Linked DNA regions of Homo sapiens: regions 1, 3 and 4 are each linked to region 2. The links are contacts of gene promoters, found by promoter capture Hi-C in human tissues and cell types (Jung and others, 2019). All regions are on one chromosome and are shown on one strand. Each heading gives the region's core, a stretch centred on a gene start or on the middle of the fragment in contact. The rest is flanking DNA. Distances are from core to core; before and after follow the strand shown. Region 1 overlaps DNAH17 (dynein axonemal heavy chain 17). Region 2 holds the start of DNAH17 (dynein axonemal heavy chain 17). Region 3 overlaps DNAH17 (dynein axonemal heavy chain 17). Region 4 overlaps CYTH1 (cytohesin 1).

Region 1 (2,700 bases), core at 201-2,700, 89 kb before region 2:
CGATCCAGCTGCTCACCACCCTGGGGGTGACAGGAGGCGCCGATGACACAGCCGCTGCTCTGGGTCTGCCAGTGTCCCTGCCTTGGTAAACGCCCCTCCCTACCTCCACCCAATTCTGCTGGGGCTGCCCTCAGGGTCACCATGCCTGCATGGCAATGGGTCCAAACGAGGGTGCCAGAGGGGCCAGTTGCAGGCCCTGAAAGGGTCGGAGGAGGATGCCAGGGTCGTGGGGGCTGTGCCCTCTCTGGGGTTGCTAGCTATGGGGGTGCTGTAGGTCTAGAACAGTTGGAAGCCATTCTTGCTACCACACGGGAAGCACATACCAAGGGCTGGTGGATGGGGCAGAACAGAAAAGGAGAAAGATCTCATGATGTCATGTGGGGGGCACGAAGGTGGGGACAGTAAGGGAGCAGAAAGGAGAGACAAGGATAGGAGCAGGGACATTTCATTACATCATCTGGACTCCTGAATCCAGCCATGCCTGAAGCACCCCTTGGTGCTTTTTTTTTTTTTTTTTTTTTAAGCTTCAGTTAGTTTGAGTTGAATTTGCCATGTTCAGTGTAAGAGTACAAATCAATACAACCAGCAATCCTTGAAGAGCCGTGCCAGACTGTTGGCCACAGACATCTCTGGGTGGCTCGTGTGGAGGTGGCCCACCACGGCGGTGAGGGGTGTGGACTCTGGGGCCTGACTGCCCAGGCTTGAGTCAGCTCTACCATGGCCAGCTGCTGCTTTAGGCAGGTTACTGCACATGCCTGAGTCCCTGGTTTCTCATCTGTAAACAGGGGTGATGTTTCCATGACCCTCATTTCCAAGGACTACATGGGCTGATATTTTTAAAGCTCAGAGAAGGGGGCCTGGTCCAGGGTAAGTGTTGCCAAATCAGCATCTGCTGAAAGCATCACTAGTGCCTGGCCCCCTCGAGTGCCAGTGAGCTCAGCACGTGCATCATTTCCAGGATGCCCAGGGCCTAAGCAGGAAGCTCCTGTTAACACACACAGCCAGCCTGCCCTGCGCTGACCGGCAGACGTGCCTCTTTAGACAGAGACTCATTTTTTTTCTTCTTCTGAGATGGAGTCTTGCTCTGTAGTGCAGGGGTGCGATCTCGGCTCACTGCAACTTCTGCCTCCTGGGTTCAAGCAATTCTCCTGTTTCGGCCTTCCAAGTAGCTGGGATCACAGGCGTGCACCATCACACCTGGCTAATTTTCATATTTTTAGTAGAGACAGGGTTTCGCCACGTTGGCCAGGCTGGTCTTGAACTCCTGACCTTAGATGATCTGCCCGCCTCAGCTTCCCAAAGTGCTGCGATTACAGACATGAGGCACTGTGCTTGGCCAGACACACACTCTTCTGTGAGTGTGCTCTGGGGGAGCTCCGCTTCTTCCTGAACCTCTATCACAAGAGAGAATTAAGAGCTGAACGTCTTTGCCGCATAGCACCCTGTATTATCCAGCGTAATAGAGTAAACCTTTCTATGTCCCTAAGCGAATCAGGGTGTCTCCATGCCTGTCGCAACTAAGAACTGAATTCCAAGTCCAGTTGGTCTTCAGTAGGGGAGATTGATTTGCAAATCTACGCAGAGGCTGCTGCTTTCTGCCTTCTACTTTGAAGATGTTTGTGTCAAAAATTTGTGATGCTGCCTTGGTAGGAGTCACTGAGTGCGGGTCGGTGTGTGTGCTGTCTCTGATATGCGTAGCACAGGCCCCAGGAGAGACACATGCTTGCGAGACAGGCCGACTTTCTCACCTCTGGTCCATACGGCTTCTTGCCCTGTCCCCAAGGCCATCCTGGGTGCATCCGGCATCCCTGCCCCTGGCAGTTGCCTATAGGAGGGCTGCTCCTGCTGTCTGGGGACCCTGTGTCTGCTTCTCGCCCATTTCCATTCTCTCCTCTGCCAATACTCAGGTCTCCTCCTCCTGCTTCCTCCAGGTCACTCCTTGGAGGTGTCCAGTTCCTGCCTTGGCCCACGCTGCCTTCGTTTCTGGCTCCCTCTTCTCTGCTCCCATAGGGTGTCCCCCTGAGGACTCCACGATCCTGTCTTTTTCCTGTCCCCGTGTCTCAGCAGCTCCTACCCAGGCTTCATTTCAGTTCCCCGGACATTGTCTTTGCCTACCCTGAAAACTCCCACACATGGTACAGTGGGTAGGATGGTGGTGCTACAAAAGAATGTCCACCCAGAACCCAGAATGTGCCCTGATTTGGAGAAAGGGCATTAGCAGATGTCATCAAGGATCTTGAGACAAGATCATCCTGGATTTAGGGTGGACCCTGAATCCAATGACTGTGTCCTTATAAGCAAATGGGAAATTTGGACACAGACATACAGAGAAGGCCACGTGGAGACAGAGGCGGAGATGGGAGGGGTGTGTCCATAAGCCAAGGGATGCCAAGGACCGCCGAGAGCCCCCAGGAGCTGGGAGAGAGGCCTGGGACAGGTTCTCCCGCAGAGCCTCAGAGGGAACCAGCACTGCCTACTCCTTGACTTCTGGCCTCCAGCACTGGGAGAGGATAAATGTCTGTTGTTTGAAGCTGCCCCATTAGTGGTCATTGTTTCAGCAGCTGGAGAATGCTGTATAAGCAGGCAAGTGTTGCTGGAGAAGCCGGCACAGAGGCACCCAGGCTCAGCAGCTCCTGGCCCTGTCCCCATAGGGAACATTCCACTTGGTATCCCTCTCAAACCCTGGCCACACTGTGCTGC
Region 2 (2,700 bases), core at 6-2,505:
ACGTTGGAAGCACTCACAAATTCTGCCTTTTGGTTTGACCCAAGCTATTGCTTTTAAGTTTGTAACAGCCTACAGTTCCCCAAAAGACACGTAATACCACGGAACAGGTTTATTTCACCCTGGCCACTATATATCGGCAAAACAACTATATGATGGGAAGCAGTAGTGGATAGCATTTGGATGCTATTCAAATGGTCTGAGATTTATTCAAGGCTCCAAACATCTCTGAGAGAGGACTTGGGGAATATTTGGCCAGCAAATGGCAGAAACATGGCGGTCCACGAGCAAAGCCACCCGATTCAGGCACATCTGTGAAAGAAAAAGGGGACACCACCAGGCAAGTAGGAGGAGCACCGCGTGGCATTTATGGAGATGACTCGTTCACCAGGTTCCCACAGGGCTTTCAGCATGCTGCTGAATTAATCTCCACCCAGGATCTCCGAGACCCGGGGACGCGTCACGTCGTCATTTCCTAGGGGGATCAGGAACTCAGGGGAGCCCGAGTCCTGGAAGGTTCCTGATTGGAAGTCTCGCCAAGCTGGTCAGGCGACTGGACTGGAGGGAAACATCCTCTGGTTTACTGATTTTGTGGATTTGGGCTTTCACAAAGTCATCTTTTCTTCCAAGAACGGCATGGGGTGGGCTGCCTCCCAAGCCATAACATGTGTGGGCTGAGGGGCCCCTACACCCCGCAAGTTTCTTGCACGATCGGGAGGTCTCATCTCAGGCTCCCACCCAGCCGTTTCCTGGGCTGAAGGCCAGGAGGTCCCAGTTAACAATAGGGTTGTCCCAGGCCATGCTTCCGGAGGGGCAGAGACGGCTTCTCTGGGAGGTGGCCCATGCCCCAGGCCTTCAGGACTCCACAGGAGGAAGCTGGGGCTAGGGGCTTCCAGGAGAAGCCAGGGGGCTGAGGCAAGGCCTTCCCAGGAGCAGGGAAGAGTCTGGAGCCCTGGAAGGGGTCAGGCTGGTACGTGGCAGCCAGCCTCGGGGTCCCAGAGCCATGAACAGCTCCCGGTGGCGAGCAGAGCCACTTCTGGGGTAAGTGGAGGGTCTGCTGTCTGCCAGGGCCTAGGTCCCACCTCCATCCTCTGAAGGCCTCCCTGCTCCCTCCACCTTGGCCTCCGACTCCCCCAGCATGGTTGAAGGCCGCTCACCAGCTGAAGGCAAACAGCTTCTCCCGCAAACTGATGAGCAACTCTTTCCCAAACCAGGAAAGAAAATGGCTCCCTTCCCTCGAGGGGCTCCAACTGCCACATAACTTCTGGGAGTCTCCTCACGGTACCTGGGGCTTCTAGAACCTTCCCCTTGGGACCCAAGTAACCAATGATAGCGCAGCAAATGAGGAACCAACCGTCACCCCACAGTGGAAAGGCTCTTAGATGATCATTTTGAGGGGAGGTTGGAGGGGGGACAGGGTCGCGCTCTGTTACCCAGGCTGGAGTGCAGTGGTACAATCATAACTCACTGCAGCCTCAAACTCCTGGGCTTACGTGATCCCCCCCCCTCAGCCTCCTGAGAAGTTAGGACAACAGACGCACATCACCACACCTGGCTAATTTTTGTACTTTTTGTAGAGATGAGGTCTCACTCTGTTGCCCAGGCTGGTCTCAAACTCCTGGCCTCAAGCAATCCTCCCAAAGTGGAAAGGAAGACATTATCTCTGTTTACAATAAGGTGATCTTGTATGTAGAAAATCCCAAGAAATCCATAAAATTGTAGAGCTAATAGAGGAATTCAGCAAGTTTGCAGTATACAAGATATTTGAAAATTAATTATATTTCTCTGTAATTATATTATGAACAATCTGATGATGAAATTTAGAAAACAATTGTCCCCATAATGAACAATCTGATCATGAAATTTAGAAAACAACTCCCATTTACAACAGCATCAAAATAATTTCGTTTACAATAGCGTCAAAAACAACAAAATACTTAGGAATAAACTTTAAAAAGAAGTGTTAAGACTTGTACACTGAAAACTGCAAAACATCATGGAAATAAAGACAACCTAAATCAATGGAAGGACATGCTGTGTTCATGGGTTAGAAGATTGTTAAGACGGGCCAGGCGTGATGGCTCACGCCTGTAATCCCAGCACTTTGGGAGGCCAAGGCGGGTGGATCACGAGGTCAGGAGATCGAGACCATCCTGGCTAACACGGTGAAACCCCATCTCTACTAAAAATACAAAAAAATTAGCCGGGCGTGGTGGTGGGTGCCTGTAGTTCCAGCTACTCAGGAGGCTGAGGCAGGAGAATGGCATGTACCTGGGAGGCGGAGCTTGCAGTGAGCCGAGATCCCGCCATTGCCCTCCAGCCTGGGAGACAGAGTGAGACTCCGTCTCAAAAAAAAAAAAAAAAGAAGATTGTTAAGATGACGACAGTTCTCCTCAAGTTGATCTGCAGATTCAACACAATCCTTATCAAACTCTCAGCTGCCTTTTTTGTAGAAATGACCCTAGATTTTATAGGGAAGTATGAGGGAACAAAAACCATCCAAACAACTTTGAAAAAGAACAAAGTCTGAAGACACACACTTCCTGATTTCAAAACTCACTACAAAGCTACAGTTATCAAGACAGTGCTACCAGCATAACAATAGACAGAGATCACTAGAATAGAATTGAGGTTCCAGAAATAAATGCATCCATTTATGGACGATTGAGTTAGCAAAGGTGCCAAGACAACTCAATGGGAAAA
Region 3 (2,737 bases), core at 116-2,615, 72 kb before region 2:
TGTGTGCTGTGTTCAACTCTTTGAACCTCAGGTTTTCTCGAGATTTTTTTTTCTTCTTCCTACAACTGATTTACCTCTGCATTGTATTTTCCTCAGGCTGATGTTAAAATGGTTTCTATTGCTTGATCAATAGTTGGGTAATGAGACAGGGGAGGGGGCAGCCCGGAAGTTTTCTGACGGCAGAAGGAGCCCGCCCTGAGCCGGGGGACGCGCTTGCTGGGGAAGGAAGAGGCTGTGGAGACCACTCTGAGTGGTGGGCTGTGCAGCCGATTATTTCAGACAGGTGATGGGAATTGGCAGTTCAGAGATGTGCAACCCCTTTTAAAGCAGTCCCTTTGGCAAAAGCCATGGAAAGGATTCAATGATATTAACAGGGCTTTTTTTTTTTTTTTTTTTTTTTTTTTTTGAGACGGAGTCTCACTCTGTCACCCAGGCTGGAGTGCAGTGGCGCGATCTTGGCTCACGGCAACCTCTGCCTCCCGGGTTCAAGCGATTCTCCTGCCTCAGCCTCCCGAACAGGGCTTTTCTCCCGTCCTTTCCCCTCCCCTTTCTCCCTAAGGATACACTGGTGCTATATGGGTAAGGCTGGGCTGGAAATTCTATAAAGAGGCCCATCCCTTAAGTGTTTTCTAGAGAGGGAGAGGAGAGGAGCAGGGGCGGGCTGGCAGCTGCACAGGGTGCTGGTTCTCCGGACATCGCCATCTGAGGGCGTGTGGCCCACACGCGTGCTGCACCCTTGTCCTGGGTTCCCTGTGTGGTGTGCGCACACACTCACCTGCCCCGAGAGGTCGCATTCCTGATCAAAAACCATGTACTCGTCCTCCTTGCTGTACATTCCCAGGCCCACCTTGAGAGGTTTGTCACTGGCATCGAGCCGGAACTTCAGTTTACACAGGCTATCGAAGAGTTTGGACAGGTGGCGGCTCACCTGGGAGGAGGCAAGAAGCGGGAATTATGCAACGGGGGATTTGAAAGGCATGTGCGTGGCTTGGGCTTTCCGTGGGTGGTTTTAGGCATCGTTCTTTTTGGAATATACTCCCCATCTTTGATCAACGTTGACTAAACATGACTAAGTCAACAAAAGGAACCAGCGAAGACTGCTCTGAGTCAGGACACAGAAACCAGGCCAGGAACCGCAGCCCTTCTAAGCCAAACATCCATTCTGGAAGATTTCTTTTTGGTGGGGCATGGTGGCTCACACCTGTAATCCCAGCACTTTGGGAGGCCGAGGCAGGTGGATCACCCGAGGTCAGGAGTTCGAGACCAGCCTGACCAATGTGGAGAAACCCCATCTCTACTAAAAATACAAACTTAGCCAGACGTGGTGGTGCATGCCTGTAATCCCAGCTACTTGGGAGGCTGAGGCAGGAGAATCACCTGAACCCAGGAGGCAGAGGTTGTGGTGAGCCGAGATCGCGCCATTGCACTCCAGCCTGGGCAACAAGAGCGAAACTCCATCTCAAAATAAAAAAAATTAATAAATAAGATTTCTTCTTTTTGAGAAGGTTCTGTCCCAGATCCCAAGCCACACACTCAGTCTATTCTTGCATATCCCTTCTTCTTGTGTAACCTCTAACCTTACGGTCAAAATAAAATGCAAGCGCTTTCCCTTCACCTAGTTAATTTTTTTTTTTTTTTTTTGAGACAGAGTCTCACTCTGTCGCCCAGGCTGGAGTGCAGTGGTGCGATCTTGGCTCACGGCAACCCTCTGCCTCTCGGGTTCAAGCAATTATCATGCCACAGCCTCCTGAGTAGCTGGGATTACAGGTGTGAGCCACTGTGCCTGACCTCTTTTCTCTTTTAGAATAGCCCCAAGGAGGCACCTGTTCCTTGCTCTTGGGACCCTGAGATTTAACCAGCTGACCAGAGCAAGACCCACTGAGAGGTGTGTCTTTCAGAAACAGTGTCTTACTAAGCCTCTGGCATACGACCCATTTTCTAGAAGGGGAAAATGAGGCACAGAGAGGCAAATTAACTTCTCAAAAGCCAGGCCAAGTGCAGAGCAGGATGTGAGGCGAGTCCTGCCACGTTTCTGCCATGGCTGGGGACCCCAGGGCAGCTTCTGGTGCAGAGGGCCTCCTGGAGATGATGGGGCACGTCCAAGGACACTTACCCCACCCTAGGGCGGTTGAGGTAGAGGTGCCCACCTGGGGTCTGGCATGATGTTGGCTTAAACACCGGAATGCAAGGGGCCCCGCCTACCTCCACGGGGTCATTGCCATTGGAGAGAATGTCCAGGAGGTCAGCCGAGGAGACAAAATAGAACCGGGGGAAAGCCAGTCTTTTCGTCTCTAAATACTCTGCCAAAGCCTTTTCACAGATGGCCAAGCTGGGAGGAAGGAAGGAAGTAGAGGAGGCCGGTGACCCTACTCTGTAGGGATGTCTGCCACCCACCCTGTCGGCGAAGGAAACTGATCATCCTGGAGATGCCTGGACTGCTGTTCACAGGCCTGGTTTAATTCAGAATCTCCTACCGGAGGCTCTCGTTTCTTTGCCATCCCCTGACCTTGTGGGCACTCCTAGGCAAGAGGGAGCATCATTTATTCTCCGGGTCATTGCTTCCTTCAAGGCCAAGGCATCACGTGGTGGGATGAGGCCGGGGAGTGTGTGCTCCCCAGGGAAAGGCAATTGATTAACCCAGGACCCATGGTTTTGCCCTGTCCTGGCCAGCAGGCTGCACAAGACTTAAGTTCCGTCAGACTTAAGACTTAGGGAATCTGCACCACTGACTCCCCTG
Region 4 (2,700 bases), core at 16-2,515, 120 kb after region 2:
CACGTCTATAATCCCAGCACTCTGGGAGGTCAAGGTGGGTGGGTCGCTTGAGGTCAGGAGTTCAAGACCAGCCGGCCAACATGGTGAATCCCCATCTCTACTAAAAGTATAAAAATTAGCCAGGGGTGGTGGCACATGCCTATAGTTCCAGCTACTCAGGAGGCTGAAGCATGAGAGTCACTTGAACTGGGAGGTGGAGGTTGCAGTGAGCCAAGATTGCACCACTGCACTCCCGCCTGGGTGACACAGGGAGACTCCCTCTCAAAAAAAAAGAAAAAAAAAAGAAAAAAAAAAAAGTTGGGGTTGGGGCCGTGAAGTTATGCTGAGACAGACATGAAGGAAGGAAAAATTTCCCCAAGCCTATCTGAATGAAGCTACACCTGCTGTCAAATCGGGACCACAGGCTTTCTCTTCCTCCACCTCTCTCCCATCAAGGGAACATTTTCTGAACATGAACCACTCAAAACTTATCCCTAAGGCCTTGACCTGTGAAGCTATGCATGGCATTCTAGAAACACTTCTTGTGCCTGCTCTTTTGCTAAGACTTAACCTACAGACAATACCGCTTCTCCAATCTTCCTAAATAGCAAGGATCATGGGGCATAAATCTCATACCTCCGATCATGCTTTCTCTCTTGCCCTCATCACAAATAGCTGAGCAAAGAGGAGAATGGTTTTACAGGGATTATTCTAACTGCCAGGACCTGCCTGCATGCTCACACCAGAGAAACCTAAGGGGAGTATGCAAATAATGTTATGAAAAGAAAATGTCCAGCGTAGGTCCTGGCAGACAAGTAAAAGGACCACTGGACTTTCAGGCCAGTTTTTAGCACCCTGCTTGGATGCTGAACCCTAGGCGGGCTTACGTGACTGATCATTAATTGCCAAGATTCCAAATGACACAGATCTAGGTTATGCGAGGGAATTTGCTGTAAGCAAGCACGTGCCCTCCACCTGCCCATCCTGTGCTATATCAAGCAAATTGAGACTCTCCCTCCAGTAACTTCTAAGTTTCATGTGAGCCCTTGCCACTGGTCCCTAAAGGTTAGATGGCATGAATTAAGAGAAAACCATAAATGGATACTATGACATGCATGTGGAAAACAGGAAAGCCCGGGCAGAATTAAATAAGGAGGATAAAGAAGGCAAGGACTATATTCAGGATTGAAGCCAATTTGTTCTTAAAAAGGAACCCCCTCCACCAATTCAGAGTCTGAGAACTTTGGTCTTCCAGCCTGGCGGGCCATTGGTTGCCCACGGAGGCTCGGCACAAAGGGAACATCAACCCATGCTGACCTCCCATGCGCTCCATCACAGGACACTACCCGGGGAACCCTTCGGACATAGGAGATCATGGAAAAAGCGAGTCAGATGCTAAAAGAAACAAGATGGAAAGAAATCAAGGAGAAAAAGCAAAGCCAGAAGAAATTCTCTGCCTGATTACAAAAGCTTGGTTATTATGCCTGGACAATTTGTTGCATTACAGAGACCTCTACCATAAAGCATCACTGTGGGCCCACGGGGAACATTTCCACGTGGAAAGAAAAGCAGACATGAAACAAGCAGACAGATCAATGTGCGCCTAGGACAGTCCCTGTGGAACTCACAGGACCACCTCCCACTGCACGGCTCCTCAGGCCTCCTGTGACCTCCCCGAGACATCAAGGCCGGATGCCATCTTCCCCTACAGTTGAGAACAACCTGACAAGTCCCTGAAGCATCTCAGTAACTGTGCGTGTTTGGGGTTGTTCTTTTTAAGTGTAGCTACTGCTCAGGGAATGCTTAGGCACAAACCTGAGGGGTCTTGGGCTAAGAAAATATGTTTCCCCAAAAAAACCAGCAAATGGAGAGGAGACACCAAAACCATAACCAGGAGACCGATTCGGGGCTTTAACGAGGACTCGCTGAAAAAGCGAGGGAGCAAAACAAAACATAACAACAGAGCCGAGGCTGTTAATACCCTTCTCTGATCCCCAGGAAACTAAACACGAGGACTTCAGGGAGGGTTTTTTGGTTTGGACTTGTTTTTTTCACCTTCACTCGGTATCATTTTGAGTTTAGGAAATACCATTTCCCCTTTTCGTGCAAAGGCAAATGTCTTAAGTATCATCTAATTTAGTTCTTTCCCTAGTTTGCTTTTCCATCATGGTAAATCAGAAGCTTTCCATAGCTTTGGGAAGTCAAGACTTTGTTCTCTCTGGAGTAAGTCTCAGCTTGAAAAAAGAAGAAAAAAGAAAGACTTCCTTCTCTTCTTTCTCCTCTTCCCCACGTCAGAGATTAACTTTCAATCAGGCTGATTAATGGACGTCAAATTGAATATCAAACATAGCGCATGTCTTAGCCAATAATTCCAAGTGAAAATGTCATGGAAACTTCCTCTGCTTTTACAAACCCACTCTTAGTATGTTTTCTTGCATTACTGCATTCAGTAATGAATATAACATATACTCCTCCAAAAAAGAAAAACGAAAATTGCTCCAAACCCCTGATCCTGACCAGTTCCCTAGGGACTGTACAATAAGTTAGAAGCAGCATTAACACTACCACCGGCAATTAAAAAACAAAATAACCAAAAATAACGAAATCAGAAAATGCTGCAGTAATGACAGTGGCCTAGCAGAGCGAGCGAGCAGGCTGAGGGTTACATACCTCCTGGAGTTTGGGGCAAGGAAAAGGAGAGCCAAAATCATGGAAACATAC

Evidence for each region. The method cuts DNA at HindIII sites, captures the fragments that hold promoters and counts their contacts. A contact is called where the count stands out against the background at its distance.
Region 1: a contact is called between a fragment that was not itself captured here and the fragment with the promoter of DNAH17 in region 2, in 5 of the 25 tissues and cell types used here (H1 embryonic stem cells, lymphoblastoid cells, mesendoderm cells and 2 more).
Region 3: a contact is called between a fragment that was not itself captured here and the fragment with the promoter of DNAH17 in region 2, in 2 of the 25 tissues and cell types used here (IMR-90 fibroblasts and pancreas).
Region 4: a contact is called between a fragment that was not itself captured here and the fragment with the promoter of DNAH17 in region 2, in 3 of the 25 tissues and cell types used here (mesendoderm cells, pancreas and thymus).

The regions. Positions count from the first base shown.
Region 1 is chr17:78,486,487-78,489,186 of GRCh38, forward strand. It overlaps DNAH17 (dynein axonemal heavy chain 17), which reads right to left. Exons shown (of 81, transcript NM_173628.4): 45 at 1-20. The region is part of intron 1 of DNAH17-AS1 (DNAH17 antisense RNA 1); the gene reads left to right. Among named protein-coding and RNA genes, the nearest start is that of DNAH17-AS1, 2.9 kb to the left of the region's middle. The HindIII fragment of the contact is 5,977 bases long and covers 1-2,700 here.
Region 2 is chr17:78,576,141-78,578,840 of GRCh38, forward strand. It overlaps DNAH17 (dynein axonemal heavy chain 17), which reads right to left and starts at 1,256. Exons shown (of 81, transcript NM_173628.4): 1 at 1,155-1,256. The HindIII fragment of the contact is 13,821 bases long and covers 1-2,700 here.
Region 3 is chr17:78,504,518-78,507,254 of GRCh38, forward strand. DNAH17 (dynein axonemal heavy chain 17) reads right to left here. Exons shown (of 81, transcript NM_173628.4): 30 at 2,203-2,329; 31 at 776-928. Among named protein-coding and RNA genes, the nearest start is that of DNAH17-AS1, 21 kb to the left of the region's middle. RefSeq lists enhancers at 2,269-2,737, 2,584-2,737. The HindIII fragment of the contact is 9,772 bases long and covers 1-2,737 here.
Region 4 is chr17:78,693,358-78,696,057 of GRCh38, forward strand. CYTH1 (cytohesin 1) reads right to left here. Exons shown (of 14, transcript NM_004762.6): 10 at 2,650-2,652. Among named protein-coding and RNA genes, the nearest start is that of SCAT1, 63 kb to the left of the region's middle. The HindIII fragment of the contact is 4,880 bases long and covers 1-2,700 here.